Regions from separate parts of the Homo sapiens genome. Here region 2 is linked to region 1. Evidence: promoter capture Hi-C in 16 types of primary human blood cells and fetal thymus (Javierre and others, 2016). All regions are on one chromosome and are shown on one strand. Each heading gives the region's core, a stretch centred on a gene start or on the middle of the fragment in contact. The rest is flanking DNA. Distances are from core to core; before and after follow the strand shown. Region 1 holds the start of BOD1L1 (biorientation of chromosomes in cell division 1 like 1). Region 2 overlaps WDR1 (WD repeat domain 1).

Region 1 (4,479 bases), core at 1,076-3,575:
TTGTAATCTTGACTGCTTTTTTTTTTTTTTTTTTTTTTGAGACAGGGTGTCACTCTGTCACCAAGGCTGGAATGAAGTGGCACCACCATAGCTTATTGCAGTCTTAACCTCCTGGGCTCAAGCAATCCTCCCACCTCAGTTTCTCAAGGTCTGCAACATCACACCTGGTTACTTTTTTGTTTTGTTTTGTTACTGGTCTTGAACTTGTGGCTTCAAGCCACCCACCTGCCCCAGCCTCACAAAGCTCTAGGATTACAGGGGTTTGCTGCCACGCCCAGCCTTGACTGCATATAGTAATTAATCTTTTAAGATTCATATCCATGACTTTCTCCTCTCTGCTATCTTCATCAAACTCCTCAAAACACACAGGATACTCTGAATTGAAACAATGAAGTCAAATTGTTTCTGATTTAAAGTAAATCTGATTTGTCTAGTTTGACAATGAAAATGGGCTCTGTTAATTAGGTTATAAGGTAAACATTTAACATTCTTAACAAACCTTTTTTTTTCTTGTTTTTGAGAAGGGTCTCACTCTGTTGCTCAACCTGGAGTGTACTGGCCCCATCATGGCTCACTGCAGACTTGACTTCTTGGGCTCGGGTGATCCTCCCACCTAATCCTCCCAAGTAGGTAGGACTACAGGTGCACGCCACTACACCGCCTAATTTCTTTTATTTTTTTGTAGAGGTGGGGTCTTGCCATGTTGCCCAGGCTGGTCTTGAACTCTGGACTCAACCGATCCTCCCGCCTCAGCCTCCCAAAGTGCTAGGATTACAGGCGTGAGACACTGTGCCCAGTGACAAAGATTTTGAACTTGAATGAGCTAAATCTGCAGTTGCAAATTTTGACAAAAACATAATTTAACCACCTGATAACAAAAATAAATCTTATCCAAAACTATTTATGAAAATGAAAAATGTTTAGATATTCTCCAAACTTTCAGTATATCAGGTGAAAGGTACACCTCATTGAAAAAATCAGGTCTAATTCATAGTCATTTGGTATCTTGGTAAAACCTATCTGGTATATTTCCCAGAATCTGAAAGAGTGAAAAAATAAGGATTAAGTAAACAAATCCTTTGGCAAGCCAGGTGGTTTTCAGCTCTTTGCTTTCCATAAAATAGAAGGAGGGCCTAATTGAAGTCAGCTCATAGATAATCAAATCTAATTTTTTGAGGTCAAGAATTGAATGATATTGCTACAACAAAACTCTTCCATTCCTAGGCACAGTACTTGTTTATATGAACAAGGTTTCTCAGGGCACACAGCTATAAAAATTACAAATAGGAATAGAATTGATGCTCAACCCTTCTTTTCCTACTAATAAGATATATTCAGCCACAGATGTAGGAACTTTAAAAAGCAACAATATGCATTTTTCAATAAAGTTACACACACTATTTAGTAATTATGAAATTTTCTAATATTTATGTTGCTTTGACCACGTACTAATAATAATTTCAAAGATGATGCAGTCCAAAAGCAGGTGATTTGCTAGCTGTGTAATCTTACTCAACATACTTAATTTATCTGAGCCTTGGTTCCCTGATTTGCAAACTGGGGACAGTAATCAGACCTAGCTCTTAGTGTTTGTCCAAAGATTAAATGCGTTAATACATGTAAAAGCACTTAACGCCACGCTTGGTACATAATATGTGCTATAGATGTTTTACCTGCTATAATCATAGTAATCAATAGCAAATCTCCTAAAAATAAAAGCCTGTCGATTTGTCTTCACAGATAGGAAGAACGGGCTGGAGGGATCGGATCTAATCCACAGGCACACTGCCAGAAACAAGGGACCCCCACGGGGAAATGGTATGTGCAGGCAGAAGAGAGACAGAAGGAACTTGGAGCTACCTGCTGGGACAAGAATAGTGCAGGATCACAGGCTAAGAACGAAGAGGGTTGGGCGAAGTTAGAATGAGCAGATCCACGTAGGGTTCGCATTACAAATGTCTATGGATCTCTATGCACTGCTCCGGGAAACTGGAGCAAGAGAGGCAGGCCTAAAATGCCGTCGCGGATGAAGCGGGGCCAGAAACGCACTGCCCCCGCTCAGACCTAGGGCCCCAGGTGTCGCGCGGGTCGAAGCCCTAACCTCCAGGGACTCCAGACCCCTGCCGGTGACCTAAACCCCACAACCCGCGACCAGCACAGTCTTGTCGTCTCCGTCGCCACAGTCGCCGCCACTTCCGGCGCAGCTCGGCCTCGCGAGGGCGCTTGCGCCCGGCGACGGTCGAAACTGGCTCTTCGCGGCCTCCGTCGCCGGACTTTCGTCAATGTTGTCACCGTCTTTTCCTCCTTTCCCCCAGTTCCCTTTCACTTCCGGGGTTGCTCTGGATCCGCTGGTTCCGTAACAACATCCCGTTGGCTTCCCTCAGGCGGCGGGACCAGTGCAGCCGCCGCCTCCCAGGATCGTCCGCCGGTCAGGGCCCTTGCCCTCCCCGGCACAGGCCACCATGGCCACCAACCCACAGCCGCAGCCGCCTCCTCCGGCGCCGCCGCCTCCCCCGCCGCAGCCGCAGCCGCAGCCACCGCCGCCGCCGCCGGGCCCCGGGGCTGGCCCCGGCGCGGGCGGGGCGGGCGGCGCGGGTGCGGGCGCCGGGGACCCGCAGCTCGTGGCCATGATCGTGAACCACCTCAAGAGCCAGGGGCTCTTCGACCAGTTCCGCAGAGACTGCCTGGCCGACGTGGACACCAAGGTTAGGAGCGCGCCGGGTTTGGGGGTCTGCGAGGGAAGGGGAGGACCCAAGGGCGCGCTTCTTTTGCAGTGGCTTCCTCTTGGAGCTGCAGCTGTGTGCCACGGACTGTGCAAAGCACAGAGTGTTCATTCCTTAGCGTGTCCTTTGGTTCGTTTTACCGACTAGTGTTTAAGTACCTACTACGTGCCAGTCATGGTTTCGGCACAGTGATTACCCCGGTCTGATGAGCAAGACTAAGGCATTGTTCTTACAGGAACTGGTTTGGAAACAGTGGCGCTAACAGTAGCCAGTTTTGTATTCATTCTCATATCTGATGATTTTACTTTGTATCGAAGTTATGTTTGCCTTCTTTCTTGAAGGTTTCTGGGCGGTAAGGGCCTTTATCCTTTGGAGAAATGACTAAATGGTAATTGAATCAAGTTATGTGTAATATGCTTTGCTGGACATCGTGGGGGTGGGAGCGCAAAGATAAGGAGGCAAACCTGAGACAGGACTTTAGTATTGTTTCTAGCAGTGATTGCCTGATTTAGGTAACTTAGGCCATGTCACCATTCTAAGGTAAGAAGGGACAGGAAGGTGGGGTAGAGAGAACCGAGTCATTCAGTGGAGAAAAGATGCAGGAGAGGTGACAGCAGATACTGAAGTGGAGAAAGGACAGGAAAGAGAGCAGATTCAGGAGAGTAATGTAGAGAAGGGAAAGGACAGCAACAAGGTTCCCTGTCCAGAAAGAGAGGCTGGAAAGGGGAAGGGATTTTGTACCAAATGTCAGAGTGAAAGGGACATTAGCAGGAACAAGTAAACTTAGCTGGATTGGCAAAGAATTAGCCAAAGACACCAGGAAAGAGCAGTCAGTGAGATGGATGGAAAACCACAGTACAGTCTAGAATTCTGGAAGCAGAAAGCATGTTGGAAAATTAACTGGTTTGTAGGGGTTGTTTTTGTCTGCTTGTTAAATCTGGTTGGGTCCATTGGATTGGAGTTTTGATGAAATGAGGGTTTCCTTTTTTTTTTTTTTTTTTTTTTTTGAGACAGAGTCTCGCCCTGTCGCCAGGCTGGAATGCAATGGCGTGATCTCGGCTCACTGCAACCTCCGCCTCCCGGGTTCAAGCGACTCTCCTGTCTCAGCCTCCCAAGTAGCTGGGATTACAAGCGCGTGCCACCACGCCCTGCTAATTTTTGTATTTTTAGTAGACACAAGGTTTCACCGTGTTGGCCAGGATGGTCTCGATCTCCTGACCTCGTGATTCGCCCAGTAGGCATGAGCCACCGCGCCCGGTCGAGGGTTTTCTCATAGTATGTTTAGTTGTTCTGAGGAGCTTTGTATCTTTGAGAAATGCATGTTTACAACATCCACAGTTTCTTCTAAAGCTTTCAGGTGAACTGCACACAGTTCCACTATGTCTTCTGGGGAAACTCTTGAATATCCTGGTACATCTTCCTTTATAAGGACTCATACTGGGCCCACTATGTAAAACGTGGTTTTTCGGGATATTGGAGGTTTTGCACCACAGAGAATTCAATTCACTTGGGAGTGTTCATCTATTTAGGAAGTATAGTTTTTTTTACTTTTGTCTTCAGGAATATGCACTGCTACCTTTTAGAAATAATTTCTATTGCCTTTATTATTTTTGTTGTTATTTAATGGGAAAAGGTTAGACATGGCCAGGTAAATGTTATCAAATAAAGTTAGTTATTCGTATTCAACAAGTGGAATTTTTACTTTGCTGTTCTCAGAAACCCATGAATCTGTGTGTTCTCAGAAACCCATGAATCA
Region 2 (4,422 bases), core at 1,498-3,997, 3.5 Mb after region 1:
GTTTCTTTGTCATGTGGGATTATGAGGTTACCTTCCTTACAGCAGGTGTTGTGAGGTTTCAAAGAGAATCCACTGAGGGGCCCACCCAGGGCCTGTCTGAGAGTGAATAGTAAGTGGCCGGTGGGGATTTGTTTCTTGATAAACAGCTACCAGGCTCCAGCCAAGTTCTGGTCTTTGTCGGTATTTGGCAGCTGCTATGGTGAATCAAGTGTGAACCTTCCCCACTCTGGTGTCCACGTAGTACAGAAGGCAGGTGGGGCACAAATGATGTGTAGTCCAAGGTGGAAAGTAGTGAGGGCAGTGGGGTGGGAGTCAGGGAAGGTGGGGGTTCAGGGTGGGAGAGATGATTTCTAGCTTGGAGCATCAGGGAAGGCTGCTTGGAGGAGAAGCCCTTTGCCTGGGCCTTAAAAGATAATTAGGAGAAGGCGTTGTGTTGTCGCAGAAGTTTACATTCCTGCTTTGGAGCTGAGGTTTTTTGCTGTCATTCAGCCTTGGCCTTAGTTGTAGTCACCAGTGAACATAAGGGCCCTGGCCAGTTATATTTGCACAGGTCAGTTACAGCAGTAACAGCTTTCAGCCTCTGTTGCTTGCAGGAACTTGGAGTATTTACAAAGCCAGTGCCCTGACTGGAAGCTCACGCTCACTTGGCCTGGGTGGACCATGGAGGACGCCTGAGACTTTCTCTGGGGTTCCCGGGGACAGTTGGCAGCTAAAGGAGGGCACAGCAGGCCCCTTCATCAGTGTTGTGTCGTCATCTGCTGAAATGTTTTTTGCTTGGGCAGGTATCTCCAACCTTCTAGCATGTTCCATCAGGTTCACTGTGGGCCAGGAGCTGAGATACCAGTGGCAAGCCTTGAGACCCAAGCCCCAGGACCCAGGGTCATCACAGCCTACCTGTAAATTGGAGTAGTGACCTCTGGCCCCTCCGTCACCCACCTGAGACTGGGAGGACATAGGAAAGTAAGAGAGCTTTGAGGGGCTCAGGGCTCACTAATTGTAAATGTTGCTGCCTGGGGCATAACAGAGTTACGGAAATGTCGCTTCTGTGTGCTTGTTTGCATGACCTGTGTATTATAGCGAGTCTCAAAGGCGGCACAGACATTGTACAGGTGCCGGGGGGGAGTATGTTTAGGTTTGCCATTCAACAGGATTCTCAGAAAAAGACCAGCTATTCCTGGGCAGGATGCCTCAGTGCACAGGTGGGAGGTGGGGGCTGGTGGGACCTGAGCATAGTGTGACAGAGTAGAATGGCCTCCCGGGTCAAGTCCAAAGCTTCTGCTTCAAATGGGCACCACTGGGCCTTGAACCAGGCCCTGTGTTGGCAGGGCTGGGTGCTGTTACATGCTGTCACTTGCCGAAGTCCGTGGGTCCTGGGTCTGCTCGCGTGTGTGACTCCTTGATTGCTGGCTGGTGTCCTTCATGTCCTCAGAGGCCCCCGGACTCCTCCAGGGGTGGTGGCAGAATTCTGGGGCTTGTCTCGAGGTCTTATCCCAGCCCCAGCTCTGGCCCTCACAGGCCCTAGCCCCCAGGTGTGGAGGCCACTGGGGAAGGGGTCTGGGGCCAGCAAGGTAGAGGGGCTGCACCTGTTCTATCCTCAAGGGTTGGGGTGAGGGGCCATGGGTTGGGGTAGTCAGCCCAAGGAGTGGCTGGCAACGTCAGGGCGGCAGCAGGGTAGCGACGAGTGGGCTGAAGCCTGGAGGGAGCTCAGGAAGGGTGGGTTGCAAGCCGGACCGTGAGGTAATCAGGGTCGGGATTTGAAGACTACCGGCTTGGTGGAGGGTGGAGATGCATTCCAAAGCAGTTATCGCTCTTCCCAGGAAGAACAGGAGGACTGCATTGAAAATGGTGGAGGTAAAAGAGAAGATGGGTTGGGAGTTGGCAAGGAAAACTGGGCAGGCCTGTGGTGAGGACTGAACGGCAGCCTCCCACTGCCAGAGCTGGCCCAGCCTGCAGCAGCATGAGAAGAAAGCCTGGGAGGAGGGGTGTCCCTGAGTGGGCAACTCCAAGGCTGCTCATGGTGGTCTCCCCCAGGCCCCCAGGGAGATGGGGAGACAGAACTTTTGCCTACAGTAGCACTGGGGCTCCTGGAATTGGCTTCCTGCCCTCCCTGTCTCGTTTTCCCCATTCCAGAGTTTTTCCCCAAATAAGCTTCTCAACCCCCAATCTCATTCTTCTTCCCCAAGATGGAAGGAGGGGGAGGAGGCTGGGGGGAGAGGGGCACACTGAGGGTGTCAAGGTGCCATCTCGACCCAGCTGATGGGGACAGAGCCTCACAGGCCGAGTGACACGTGGGGGTGTGAGGTATCTTTCTGGGTGTAGTAAGCAGCCTCCCTCTGCGAGCTGAGGAGCTGGGGAGGAGGCTGCTCTGACTCAGATGTAAGTCATTATCTGCAGTTTGGAGTATCTCAGCCCCCACCGCTGACCCAGTTGTATTTAGAATACAAACGAGAGTGAGTGATTCATCAGCTGGCAGGATTCTGTTGCCCTTTGGGGTTTTTACACACAGCCCTGACCATTTAGGGGAAGGAATTTTTAGGGGCAGAACTTCCTCTCATGCCCCTGCCCAGGCATCTTCCATCTCTGGATGCCCTCCCCAGCGGAAGGCCCATGGGAGCCCCACCCTTTCTACGGCAGCACGGCCTGGGGAGGAGGTCGTCCAGGCTGGGAGAGCCCACGAGGCCATCTGTCTGGCGGGATGGGCAGGTGCCCCTGTATGTGAGCGTGAGACCTCCCCCATCCCCAGTCAGCTGTGAGTGTACACCGAACAGGGTCTTGGAGGGGCTGCCTGTTAAGTGGATCATTTTCTTGCCAGGTGCTTTGGGTAGGGATGTGTCAGTGTCAGAATATGAAGGACTAATTGGAGTGGGAGAGGGTTGGATTGGGCAGACATTTAATAAATAGCCAGCATCTTAGTTTTATTGAGGTGTACTTTAGATACAGTAGAATTTGTCTGTATTCAGTGTGTGGCTTGGATCTTGACAGATGACCTATATAGTCCCATAAGCACCACCCCTGTCATGACAGAACATTCCTGTCACTCCGGAGGGTGCCCCCCGCCCCCGCCACCCCTTCCACCCTCACCCCCAGCAGCTGCTTATCTGCTTTCTGTCATTGGGGTTGCCTTTTCTAAAATCTTCTTTCATATGAAGTGAGAGGCAATGTGTAGTCTTTTCTGTCTGGCTTTTTCACTTTGCATAACATGTTGGCGATTGATAGCTGGTGTTGAGTGCATTTGCACTTTGTTCCTTTCTATCACTAAGCAGTGCGGTGTGTTGCCTGTTTCTCTGTTCACCTGTTGATGGATATTTGGGTATTTCCAGTTTTTGGCCATTGCAAAGAAAGCTTCTGTGAACATTGCTCCTGTGTCTTTTGGTGGACACATGCTTCCATTTCTCCAGGGCAGATACCTAGGAGTGGGGTTGCTGGTGTTTGGTGTGAGTAGTGTCTGTTTAGGTTTATAAATAACCTGCCCAACTCTTTTCCAACTGTACCATTTTGCATTTCCACCAGCAGTGTGAACATTCCAGTGTCCCCACCCCTCTACCCTTGCCAGCACTTGGTGATGTCAGTCTTTTCTTTTTATTGATTCTAGTGAGTATGGAGTGGTATTCTGTTGTAGTTTTGACTTGCATTTCCCAAGACTAATGACACTGAGCGCTTTTTCATGTGCTTACTTGTCATTCGTAGTATCTTCTTTGGATAGACACCTTGATACATTCTAATTTCACTGGCGAACGATTATCCCAAAATGGATTAATTTATGACTGGTGTCTATTATATCACATAATGCTGTGTTAAGTCTTAGGGATGAAAGAGAAGGTCTGTGTGTACTTCTTTTTTTCTCCCCCAAACCACTTATTGAGATGGCTAGTGAGATAAAGGTCATGTTAAGCAGGGCACAGCAGAGTTGGAGGAGATGGACAGGAATGCTAGGGACTATGATGTGTGTTGTGCCATCCCGGTGGACATGTTAAATGATCTGGAAGCACAGAAGAGTTGATACGGATAGCTTGGGCCATACTTGGAGGCTTCATGGAGGAGGGAACGCTTCCGTTAGGCCTGATGGGTGAGTGGGTGTCCGTAGGCAGGGAGAGGTGCTGGCCAAGGGCACAGACTACACACAGACGTGGAGCTTAAACAGGATGGCAGAAGGTGGGCAGGAATCAGGGTCTGTACTTCTGTGGTCTCAGTCTCGTGAGATGGGGGCCCCTCAGGTCTTGAGGAGGGGTCTAAGGGAGATGAGGGGTGGGGTGGCAGCAGGTGGGGTCATGCTAGGGGTGCCCGGGCACCCTCACAGGAGTCTGGTGTGTCCTAAGCCTCAAGCTGGCGGGAAGCTGCCTCTTTCAAAGAGCACTTGGTTTGTAAAAAGCTGACAGTAGGTAGCAGAGATTAGATGGCCATGTCTTTATTCCCTCCTGAAAG

What was found. The method cuts DNA at HindIII sites, captures the fragments that hold promoters and counts their contacts. A CHiCAGO score of 5 or more calls a contact.
Region 2: a contact is called between a fragment that was not itself captured here and the fragment with the promoter of BOD1L1 in region 1, in 1 of 17 cell types (neutrophils). The highest score is 7.1, in neutrophils.

The regions. Positions count from the first base shown.
Region 1 is chr4:13,625,571-13,630,049 of GRCh38, reverse strand. It overlaps BOD1L1 (biorientation of chromosomes in cell division 1 like 1), which reads left to right and starts at 2,325. Exons shown (of 26, transcript NM_148894.3): 1 at 2,325-2,705. The coding sequence starts at 2,463. It overlaps MIR5091 (microRNA 5091), which reads right to left and starts at 2,185; the gene lies at 2,093-2,185. RefSeq lists enhancers at 1,435-2,165, 2,169-2,328, 2,166-2,896 and a silencer at 2,469-2,668. The HindIII fragment of the contact is 7,220 bases long and covers 1-4,075 here.
Region 2 is chr4:10,104,756-10,109,177 of GRCh38, reverse strand. The region is part of intron 2 of WDR1 (WD repeat domain 1); the gene reads left to right. Among named protein-coding and RNA genes, the nearest start is that of WDR1, 9.8 kb to the left of the region's middle. RefSeq lists an enhancer at 980-1,711 and a silencer at 2,322-2,371. The HindIII fragment of the contact is 1,194 bases long and covers 2,151-3,344 here.